Linked DNA regions of Homo sapiens: regions 1 and 3 are each linked to region 2. Evidence: promoter capture Hi-C in human tissues and cell types (Jung and others, 2019). All regions are on one chromosome and are shown on one strand. The core of a region is centred on a gene start or on the middle of the fragment in contact, and the rest is flanking DNA. Distances in the headings are between cores, read along the strand shown. Region 1 overlaps EEA1 (early endosome antigen 1). Region 2 holds the start of MRPL42 (mitochondrial ribosomal protein L42). Region 3 overlaps EEA1 (early endosome antigen 1).

Region 1 (3,590 bases), core at 48-2,547, 620 kb after region 2:
TATTTCTTTGTATCAGTAAGAACTATTTTTGTTTAGATATGTCTGCCTATTGGTATTTCTCAAATTAAAAAAAAATACACTCCCTTTTGATTAAAAAATATCTTAAATGCTATTTGAAATTTTAAAATAAATGTATTATGGTGACTAAAACAGAACCAAATTAATGTCAGTTTTAGGAATATGTATTTTAAAGTTGAGTCCTCTCTGACTTATTCCAGCTGCAAGTTTTGGAGTTATGCATATACTTTTTAAACAAATAGAACATTAACAAGGAAAATAAATTTACATGTTTACTTGCATTTAAAAAAAATACAGGCTGAGTATGGTGGCTCACCTCTATAATCCCAGGACTTTGGCAGCTGAGGCAGGCAGATTGCTTCAGTCCAGGAGTTTAACCAGCCTGGGCAACATGGTGAAATCCTGTCTCTATAGAAAGTTAGCCAGACGTGCTGGCACGTACCTGTACTCCCAGCTAGGTGGGAAGCTGAGGTGAGAGGATTGCTTGAGCCCAAAAGGTTGAGGCTGCAGTGAGCCATGATCACACCACTGCACTCTAGCCTGGGCGATAGAGGCAGACCCTGTTTCAAAAAAAAAAAAAAAAAAAAAAAAAAAAGGTGAGAATATAATATAACTTGCTAATGGGAAGACATTTCTAAGTAACATTTAGGAGTTACTCTAATTTAAGAATTACTCATTTCTAAGTAATATTTAAGAGTTACTCTAATAAATTCTTATTTAAGAATTTTTAGTGTTTTATGAATTTATATTTCTATTGTAGATTAAAATACCTTTATATCTAAGGAGAATAAGTCATTTAAGATGAAAAAGCTATGATTAGAGTTTTTTTGTTTTTCTTTATTTAACAAATTATTTTTGGTAGAGATGGGGTCTTGCTATGTTGCTTAGGCTGGTCTTGACCTCCTGGCCTCAAGCAGATCCTTCTGCCTTAGTTTCCCAAAGTGTTGGTATTAAAGATGTGAGTCACCACACCCATTCTATGACTAGAGTTATGAAAGATAGGGAGGTGAAAGAATTTAGTGTCTCCCTCCATCGTCTCCTCCTGCAAACAGGGCTTTGTAAGAAATGGTGATTTTTTTTTTTTTTCTAGAAAAGGTATTTCTAGGAAAGAAGGAAAATGGCTTAGAAATCAGTTCTTCGTGTTTTCATTTAAATTTTCATAAAAATTTATCTTTTCAAGTATTTGGAAATAAATTTAGAAAGGAACTTATTTGTGCTGAGTAACTGAATAGGTGATTTAATATTTCATTATATTTTTAATAAAATAATAATACTTATTACCTATTTAATTAATAGATATGTAGTGATGAATGAGACCTTGGCTATGTTAAAATATTTTGAATAACTTTAGGAAATGGTAACTTAAGAGTCAGAATAATATTATTATTAGAAACAAACTCTTACTCTTTTGAGCACCAGTAGGTTTTGGATACTATGTTAGGCACTTAAAACGTGGTCGCATTTGTTTCTTATAACCCTGTAAGTTAACTATTAAGTATGTTTTACATGTGAGGAATCTGAGAGGCAATGAGATTAAGTAAATTGTTCAAGGTCACACCTAATATAAAAGCTAGGGTTGGAACTCAGGTTTTGTCCAAAGCCTGTGTCATTCCCTTTTTATTATGTTGTCTCCTAATTTAGGTGGTCTGATGATTGCCTTTTAAGTAAATTTGTGCTATTAATCTTGTCCTAAAACTTATTGTTAATTACTTTTCTAATTTTGCCATATTGTGTGTTGTAATATTTGTATTGGGTAATAGCTTAAAATACTTTTGAGTTGTGTCATACCATTTCCATATGAAAAAAATTACTAATTACTTCATCTCATTTATTTGTTTATAACTGCATTTGTTTTTTAGCTTTTCCTTAATCTGAATATATGACGTTTTATTAATTTATTAAAATTCAATTCTAGTTATTTTCAATTAAGTATGTTAGTGAATTATAGGACTTAATACAACAATTTTTATTATGGATGTTGCTGTTTTTACCAAACCTAAATATTGGCATCAGAAACAAAACACATACAAAGGAATTAAAGAAGCTAAAAATTTATTTTTAAGGGCCAGGTGCAGTGGCTCACACCTGTAATCCCAGCACGTTGGGAGGCCCAGGCGGTGGATCACCTGAGGTCAGGAGTACAAGACTAGCATGACCAACACAGTGAAACCCTGTCTCTACTAAAAATACAAAAAATTAGCCGGGTGTGTGGTGGCGCATGCCTGTAATCCCAGCTACTTGGGAGGCTGAGGCAGGAGAATCCCTTGAACCCGGGAGGTGGAGGTTGCAGTGAGCCAAGATCATGTCACTGTACTTCGAACCTGGGCAGCAGAGTGAGACTCTGTCTCAAAAAAAGAAAAAAAATTAAAATCTCAAGTAAACATTTATTTCAAACAAAATTAATGGCAATTTTAGGAATATGTGTTTTAACATTTAGCTCAAATAAATGTTTATTTGACTAGTATACCTAGTTGGGGCTGAAGATACATAATCTGGTGTACATTATTAACTATGTATGTCCTTGTGTTTATTATTTTCATTGAATGCATACCTTATGAATTCATTGACTTCTTTTTGCCTGGGTATTTTTGAAGGCATATAGAAAATATCTCATTCTAAAGCATTTGAAAATTCTTTATAGATAATTGGCTGTTTTATGGATTGGAAATTGAGGATTTAAAGGTTAAAAAGTATATTTATACAAATCTACATTATTGAAAATATCTAAGCTGTAATCAACTTATATTTGGTGTAGTATTTAATGGAAATGATTTTTAAAGAATTTTACTTTTTTCCAAATAAACTCATTGAATCCCAGTTTTAAGTGCTAAAATGTTCATGTAGATATGGAATAAGTATGATTATACCCATGCATAGCTATGAAAGTATTTAAATATCTTTTAAAGTATGCTTCTTTAAGAGACTAGATGTGTAGGCATGTTTGGTCATTTTAATTATGTGCTCAGTGTGTACTTTTGTCAGTCTTGTCTGCCACCTTTCATCCACCATTTTGTTATTACTTTTTCTGCTTTCTAATGGAGATGCTTAAACTTGAGGTAATGTGATTTTGGGAGGCTTTTTAATATTAATAATACCCTTAATGTGTCACCTTCAATTGTTATATGGCAATTTTATGTTTTAAGGCAATCTTAGAGCTTTGAAGACATGCTCATTTTTGTTTTGCTAATCATGCATAGCTTCAACCATTTTAAAATGATTATTTACTTATAGTTGTAGCATATTAAAACAATAATTTTAATTCTAATGCACCAGCAGGATGTTTGCTTGAAATATCTTTCCTTATTTTGTAAAGTTTTTTAGTAAAAATTCAGTATTGAATTCAATAACATTTCAGAAAACCAAGGAAGTGCAAACTTTTTATAGGATCTAATATATTGTTTCCTTGGAAATAAATATCTATTATCTCTTTGGAGGTATAATTACTCATTCCTTTAGTGAGTCTTTTTGGGTCTTCCAAGTGTCAGGGACTACTTTAGGTGTGGGGATTAAAATACTGAATAAGACAGAATGCTTGCTCCCATAAGGCTTAATCCTTTGTGGAAATCAAACAA
Region 2 (3,350 bases), core at 165-2,664:
GAATACTCAGTAAATGTGTAATTACTCTTGAAACAGTCACTCACAAATGGTACACAGAGTATTCATTCTTTTAATGCTAGTGTGGCTGTGTACACCCTCCAAGGTTCCATACACAAGATACTACATCATTTACAGTACTATCCTGTTTCTGATTAAATGAAATAGTTGTCTGCCCTGAGCCATTAATAATAATAATAATAATAAAGAAATATCAAACAAGGCCTATCCTTAGCCTATTACTCAATTGGAGGAACTCATAAATGCCCTCAAGTCCCAGATAAAATTTCACCATCTTATATGTGTACAAAGTCTTTAACTTTCCAACGTACTTTCACCACCATTTCATTTTGCTCTCGTATTAATCATGTGAGGTATCTTTATTCTGATTCATGAAGAAACTAAAGTACAAAATTTAAACGTCTTGCTTCCAAGGACTTTAGAGTCAGTCACTGCCAAATTGGGAAACTTTAAACAAGTCATTAACTAAACGATCCTCAGTTTCTCCAATGACAAAATGGGGAAAACCACAATCTTCATGGCCTGTTGTGAATAAATGACAAATAACCATTGTTAAATCTTGTTTTTAATAGTCTTCAATGAGTATCCGTGCCCTTCCCCCCAATAGTGATAAAAGAGAATTAGGACACAGGCCCTCTTATTTGCTAGTCTAAACCACTCACACTGATACCTTGCACTGCCAGTACATTAACACCGTTAACCCTGAGCTCATAGGTGTGCTTTTTAGTTTACAACCCACTTTCATATACAATATGTGCTCTGACTTTCACAAGTGTGTGAAGCAGCATCTCCATTTCAGATTAAGAACAAAGGCTCAGAGAGGTCAATCGATTACTTGCTCAGTATATCGCTGCTTAATACATGCGTGGGACGTAAACCCATGACTTCTGACCACGAATAAAACATCTTGGGGGAAATTAGGTCCCCTCTGTCCGAAGCCCAGAGAAAAGCACGCCCTGCTGGGAGTCAGATTATTCACCCCAGGAAGATCATTTCAGAGATCAAGTCCCTCAGCCCGGAATTCAACCCCAAAACAAAAGCTACAGAGCCTCTGAGGGTCAGAGGTTTGAGGAACAGGCTACCAAGAGCACCAGAACTCTTCGACCTAAAGGAGTCCCTAGAGCCACAAGCTGCATCACCTCCCCACGGGCGTCCGCCAGGGAACAAAGGGGGCGCTATAAGAAACGCGCAGCCACATGCCGGCTCTTCTGCAGGAAGGACAAAGGCTGGGGATGCAGGCAACCTCGCCCTGCCGGGAACGACAGGCGGGAGACCTCTACAACTGCCGACCAACACTGTGGGACTGCCCAGTTTCGAGGAAGTCCTCGACAGGAGGAGTAGAGGGAAGCGGTTACCTTGACGGCTTCTCACCACGAACCCGCCATCTTGTTTCAATCCTGGTCCCACGAAACAGCGCTGCGCGCGCCGTCCCAGCCCGCGGGGCATTCTGGGAAATGTAGTCTCCGCGGGAAAGCGGCCCGGGTGCAGAGAGAAAGGGAGGATTGTTGCTATGGACTTTTACCTTTAGTTGGGGAAGCGTGGCCGCAGTGTTACTAAGGTGCCCAGAAAAACAAAATCACTGCCCCAAACACATACCCTTAGAAAGTAACAAGCTTTTTTTTTTTTTTTTTTTTGTGAGGCAGTCTCATTCTGTCACCCAGACTGGAGTGCAATGGCTCCCTCACGGCTCACTGCAGCCTCTACCTCCTGGGCCCAAGAGAGCCTCCCACCTCAGCCTCCTGAGTAGCTGGTACTACAGGCGCACACCACCACACCCAGCTAATTTTTTAATATTTTTGTAGAGACGAGGTCTCGGTATGTTGCCCAGGCTTGTCTCAAGCAATCCTCCTGCCTCGGCGTCCCAAAGTGCTGGAATTACAGGCATGAGCCACCATGCAAACCTATAAGTACTTTTTAAAAAAATTATGTTAATATTCAGAGAAATCGTAGATTGCTCTTTAGTAGATGAGTTAAAGTTTCCCAGGGGAAGAGACATTCCAGAGAAGCCCTGAAATGTGGAGGCTAGGATTTGGACGTTTGAAATCAGAACCTGAAGAGAACCTCCACTCTGAAAACCTGGCACTGTGCCCTCAGAACTGTGCTGGCTACCTATTATGGGAGGAAGTAAATATGCAGAATCTTGGACCTCGCTTTCCATCTTAGGAGGAAGGAAAGACCTCTGGGCCTTTGCACTCTCTGTTCCCATTGCCAGCAATGTGCTTCTCTGACCTCTTCTCATGACCTTACAGGTCTTTCTCAAATATCATCTTAGAAAGGACCACACCATTAAAATAGCCTCACCCACCCTTATTCCATGCCCCGCTTTATTTTCCTTCAGAATATTTACCATTACCTGACTTTATATTGATTATTTGTTTGCTCGTTGAATGTCTCTTTCTTTTTTTTTTTTTTTTTGAGACGGAGTCTTGCTCTATCGCCCAGGCCGGAGTGCAGTGGCATGATCTCAGCTCACTGCAACCTCCGCCTCTCAGCTTCAAGCGATTCTCCTGCCTCAGCTTCCTAATTAGCTGGGATTACAGGTGGCCACCACCACGCCCAGCTAATTTCTGTATTTTTAGTAGAGATGGGGTTTCGCCATGTTTGCCCGGCTGATCTCGAACTCCTTACCTCAGGTGATATGCCCACCTCGGCCTCTCAAAGGGCTGGATTACAGGCGTGAGCCACCACACCCAACCTCGTTTAATGTCTCTTATGCTGGATAATGTAAGCTCCTTGAAGACAGAGACATATGTCTATCTTGTTCTTCACTGTATGCAAACCCAGCATCTCAGACTGTGCTTGGTCTCATTATAGGTCTCCAGGAAGTGTTTGCTGAATGAATGAAAAGACTAGATAACGCTGCAAGTATCCAAGACAGTAGATGATTGGCTGGTAAAGCAGAAGCGGTCGCCTGGAAATTCCCTTCTCCCATGATTTGCAAAATTTTGCTTTTGTATATTTTTCTAAGAAATAATCTATAGCTTTTATTATGTATTCCAGGGAATTGATAAACCCCTCAACAAGTTAAGAACCATATTCCTGAAGTGACTAGTATTGAAAGTAAGTGAACACACATCACATAGTAAAGAAAACTAAATACGGGCTGTGTAGTGTGTCTCCTCATTTCCCACGGAATATCAGGAGGCTAATCTTTGCTCTTATAGAAGCCCACAGAGGGCCCATCTGTGTCCTTTCCAGTCGTGTCCATCCTCCAAAGCCACCCATGATGTCTTTCTGGACTGTGCAATAGGAAGGGACAGAGAGGAGAAACAGATTTGAATGAGCAGTCAACTGGACTGGTTGAACATTCCCTGCGTAAAGTGTAAGAAGAA
Region 3 (3,590 bases), core at 194-2,693, 600 kb after region 2:
ACTTCAGCCTGGGTGACGGAGCGAGACTCATTCTCAAAATAAAATAAAATAAAATAAAATAAAATAAAATAAAATAAAATAAAAAAATAAAAGTTGCAACCCAGTAAGTTGATTTCATAATTCATTAATGAATTGCAACCTAAAATTTGTAAAACATGGATCTTTATCAGCATCTTTAACATAGTACTCTAGTTGGTAGTTTTAACCATATAATAATTTTGAGATTAGTTATGTAGTTATGTTTGTTTTTTATATTTTATGGGGCTACACATTAATTTTAGGCCTTTACTGTGTTAGCTGTAGGTTAGCAAGGACATTTACTGACTAGAAAACTTGTTATCATTGTAGATATCCAAACTCTGTGGTGATTATGAATTACTTTTTTTCCCCCTCAGTGGTTCATCTTCTTTTTTTTTTTTTCATAGCATTCCTATGAAGTAGATTGGAACAGATATTATTTTACTAATGAGGATAGCTAGAGAAAGGAAGGATATGATGGCAAATCTTCTCAACTAATCTATATTAGAACTAACTTTTCAGATTAGACTTGGGTACTCCAGCTATTAATTTATCTGACCTAAAAATAAAAGATGGTTGCAAGGGCTTTCTTTGTATTTTGTAAACTTCAACTAGAATAGACAATGAAGTATCTTTGCATGATACTAGAATTTGGGATTAATACCATAAGATAAAATTTACCTAATGGCACCATTGGTATGATTCAGACATTTGGTGATATTTAATAATATGCAAATTGTTATTTCACAATATTAAATACTATTTTGAAACTTTTTTCTGCCCCTTTCTATAGGGTTTCATATGTCCCCAGTGTATGAAATCTCTTGGATCTGCTGATGAACTTTTCAAACATTATGAAGCTGTTCATGATGCTGGTAATGACTCAGGTCATGGAGGAGAGTCTAATCTTGCTTTGAAGCGGTACGGTATGATAATTTTGAAGTATAATGTTATGGAATATGCATGTGGTATCGTCGTTTAATCATGATTAATTAGCTTATGAAAATAGTAACCTTTTTGTATTATTTAATTTAAATCTGTCATCATTTAGCATATCCTTCCTCCACTATTGTTAAAAACTATTCAATCCTTGACCAGTAACTATCTATGCCAGCAAGTACAATACGGTACATAGGTTATGTTTTTAATGAAGATTGTGAGTTAGCAAAAGAAGATTAAATTATATTTAGCATATTGTGTGTAATATAAGATGATACGATTTGCTTAGATGACTTTATAGTAAGTTGTTAAAATAATAAATTTAGCCAACAATTAAAATTTAATTTTTAATTTAAAATTTAAAAATTTCCATTTATAATCACCAGTATAGCAATAAGCATACGTACACATTGTGTTTCCTGGTAATTTTTCTTGGCCATTTTAAGAAGTAAAAGTAAACTAAAATATAACTACTTAGAATAGCATTCAATGGTATAACTTTGCATTTCTTCTGCTATTGGAGAGAACTCTTGTCTTTTATCCCCACTGAGGGCATAAAAGTTTCACTTCATTGTACTTGTAAAAAAGTATTTTTATGCTTTCCTAAAAAAAAACTTACTGGTTGATTAATCTGCTGTAACACAAAGAATACTACATAAAGGAAAATATGATAACCATATAAACTTTGTGGTTGATAGATAATGTAGATCTATAAAACATGGCCATTTTACTGTATTAAAATATGTGGGAAAACCAGTGCTTTTGGGAAGAATGGATCTTCCTTTTTAATATGACTGCTAATGCTCTCGGGTATTTTTATGTGTGAATTAATAATTTTGGCTACTATTCTTTTGTCATTTGTTAGGAAATACATTAAAAACATGTAGTTAAATTATATTATAAATGTTCTTATATTTAATATCAATTTAATAGAGTTGTGTTTCAACTATGAATTAGACTGTGTCCAGTATATGAACTTTTAACATAAAAGCATCCACGGTCTACCCTTGTTCTTCTTAACTTTTCATTTAGTGTTTTAGTTAATTGAAGCCTGACTTCTGCCCTACCATTCTCTGGCTATGGCTCTGAAGACCAACAGTAACCTGGATTATTTTCAGTTCTTATTTTGCTTGACCTCTGTTTTGATTATCTATTACTGTCTGACAATCTACCCAAAGAACATAGTGGTTTAAAACTATAACAGTTTATGAATTCTCATGATTCTTTGAATTGACTGCATGATTCTTTTGCTTTAAGTGAGGGAGACTGGGGTTGTAGGAAGACCAGAAGGTTCAAAATGGCCTCACATTCATGGCTGGAAGTCTGTGTTGGATGCCAGCTGGGAGCTCATCTGGGGCTTTATGCCAAAGGCTTCAATTCTCTTTCATGTGGGCCTCTTTATGTGGCTGCTTGGACTTCCTCAAAAGCTGGTAGTTCGTTCTAAGGTAGTATGTTCCAAGAGGAAAGAAGCAGAAGCTGCCAATCTTCTTTAGGCTTGATTCAAAAGTGTCAGAGCATCACTTCTGCCATTCTATTGGATAAAGTAGTCATAGTGCCAAGTCAGATTCATGAGGCCTGAAGATAAACTTTGTCTTTTAGTGGATTAGTATAGGAAAGGAAGAACTTGATTGTAGTCATCTCTGTAGAGTATCTGCAACAACCACTGCAAAATTTGGCTGTGCCAGTTCTCCTTCCTTCTACTCTTCTGAGATGACATACCATTGTGATAATTTTTTCTTGATCTGTTTTGTATGCTGCTCTTTCTCTGTATGATCTACCTAGGGTAATATCTACATCCATAACTTCCTCCTAAACCATATCTCCAACCTAGAATTATCTCCCAACTTGCCTATTAGGTATCTTCCCTCAGATGTTCTGGAGGCACCTCATCATTGACATTTTGAAAACAGAGTTTTTTCTGTTTTCTTCTAAACCTACTGCTTGTCTACTATTACTTCTTCTGGAGAATGGTGTCATTATCTGTCCACCCAGTTAGTAAAGCCAGGAAAGTAGGTGTGATCATTTTTACACATCTGCTCCTCCTACCCGCATCTGATTTATCATAAAGTTTAGTTAATTCTGTTTCCTTAACAGCATATATTCTTTTACATTTTTACTGTTATAGTTTATTTTAGGCCTTAAATCTCACTCAGAAATGTTTTTTCATATTTATAGTTGGCTCTCTATCTTTAGTCTTGTACTCCTCCAATTCTCCATATTGCTGCCAGAATAATATTCTTTTTTCTTTTTTTTTTAGAGATAGGATCTTGCTCTGTTTTCCAGGCTGGTATAGTCATAGCTTACTGTAGCCTCCAACTCCTGGTCTCAAGTAATCCTCGTGCCTCAGCCTCCCAAGTAACTGGGACTACAGGCATGGACCAACATGCCTGGCTAATTTTTACTTTTTTTTTCTTTTTGGGACAGTGTCTCACTATGTTGTTCAAGAACCTCAAGAAGTCCTCAAGGAATTCTCCCACCTCAACCTGCCAAAGTGTTAGGATTGCAGGCCTGAGTCACTGCGCCTGGCCAGAATAATATTCTTAAAATGCAAATTTGATTGGCATTGCTCTAAGTAGTAATTTTTGCAGGCTTCTCATTGCTTACGGAAGTTACTGCATGCGTTTCCGTTTTTA

What was found. Contacts are between HindIII fragments. The study calls those that stand out against the background at their distance.
Region 1: a fragment that was not itself captured here is called in contact with the fragment with the promoter of MRPL42 in region 2 in 1 of the 25 tissues and cell types used here (heart left ventricle).
Region 3: a contact is called between a fragment that was not itself captured here and the fragment with the promoter of MRPL42 in region 2, in 1 of the 25 tissues and cell types used here (dorsolateral prefrontal cortex).

The regions. Positions count from the first base shown.
Region 1 is chr12:92,845,746-92,849,335 of GRCh38, reverse strand. The region is part of intron 9 of EEA1 (early endosome antigen 1); the gene reads left to right. Among named protein-coding and RNA genes, the nearest start is that of EEA1, 82 kb to the left of the region's middle. The HindIII fragment of the contact is 4,086 bases long and covers 1-3,340 here.
Region 2 is chr12:93,465,578-93,468,927 of GRCh38, reverse strand. MRPL42 (mitochondrial ribosomal protein L42) reads right to left here and starts at 1,414. Exons shown (of 6, transcript NM_014050.4): 1 at 1,374-1,414. RefSeq lists enhancers at 1,193-1,462, 1,523-1,582. The HindIII fragment of the contact is 7,004 bases long and covers 1-3,350 here.
Region 3 is chr12:92,862,209-92,865,798 of GRCh38, reverse strand. EEA1 (early endosome antigen 1) reads left to right here. Exons shown (of 29, transcript NM_003566.4): 3 at 812-939. Among named protein-coding and RNA genes, the nearest start is that of EEA1, 65 kb to the left of the region's middle. The HindIII fragment of the contact is 8,401 bases long and covers 1-3,590 here.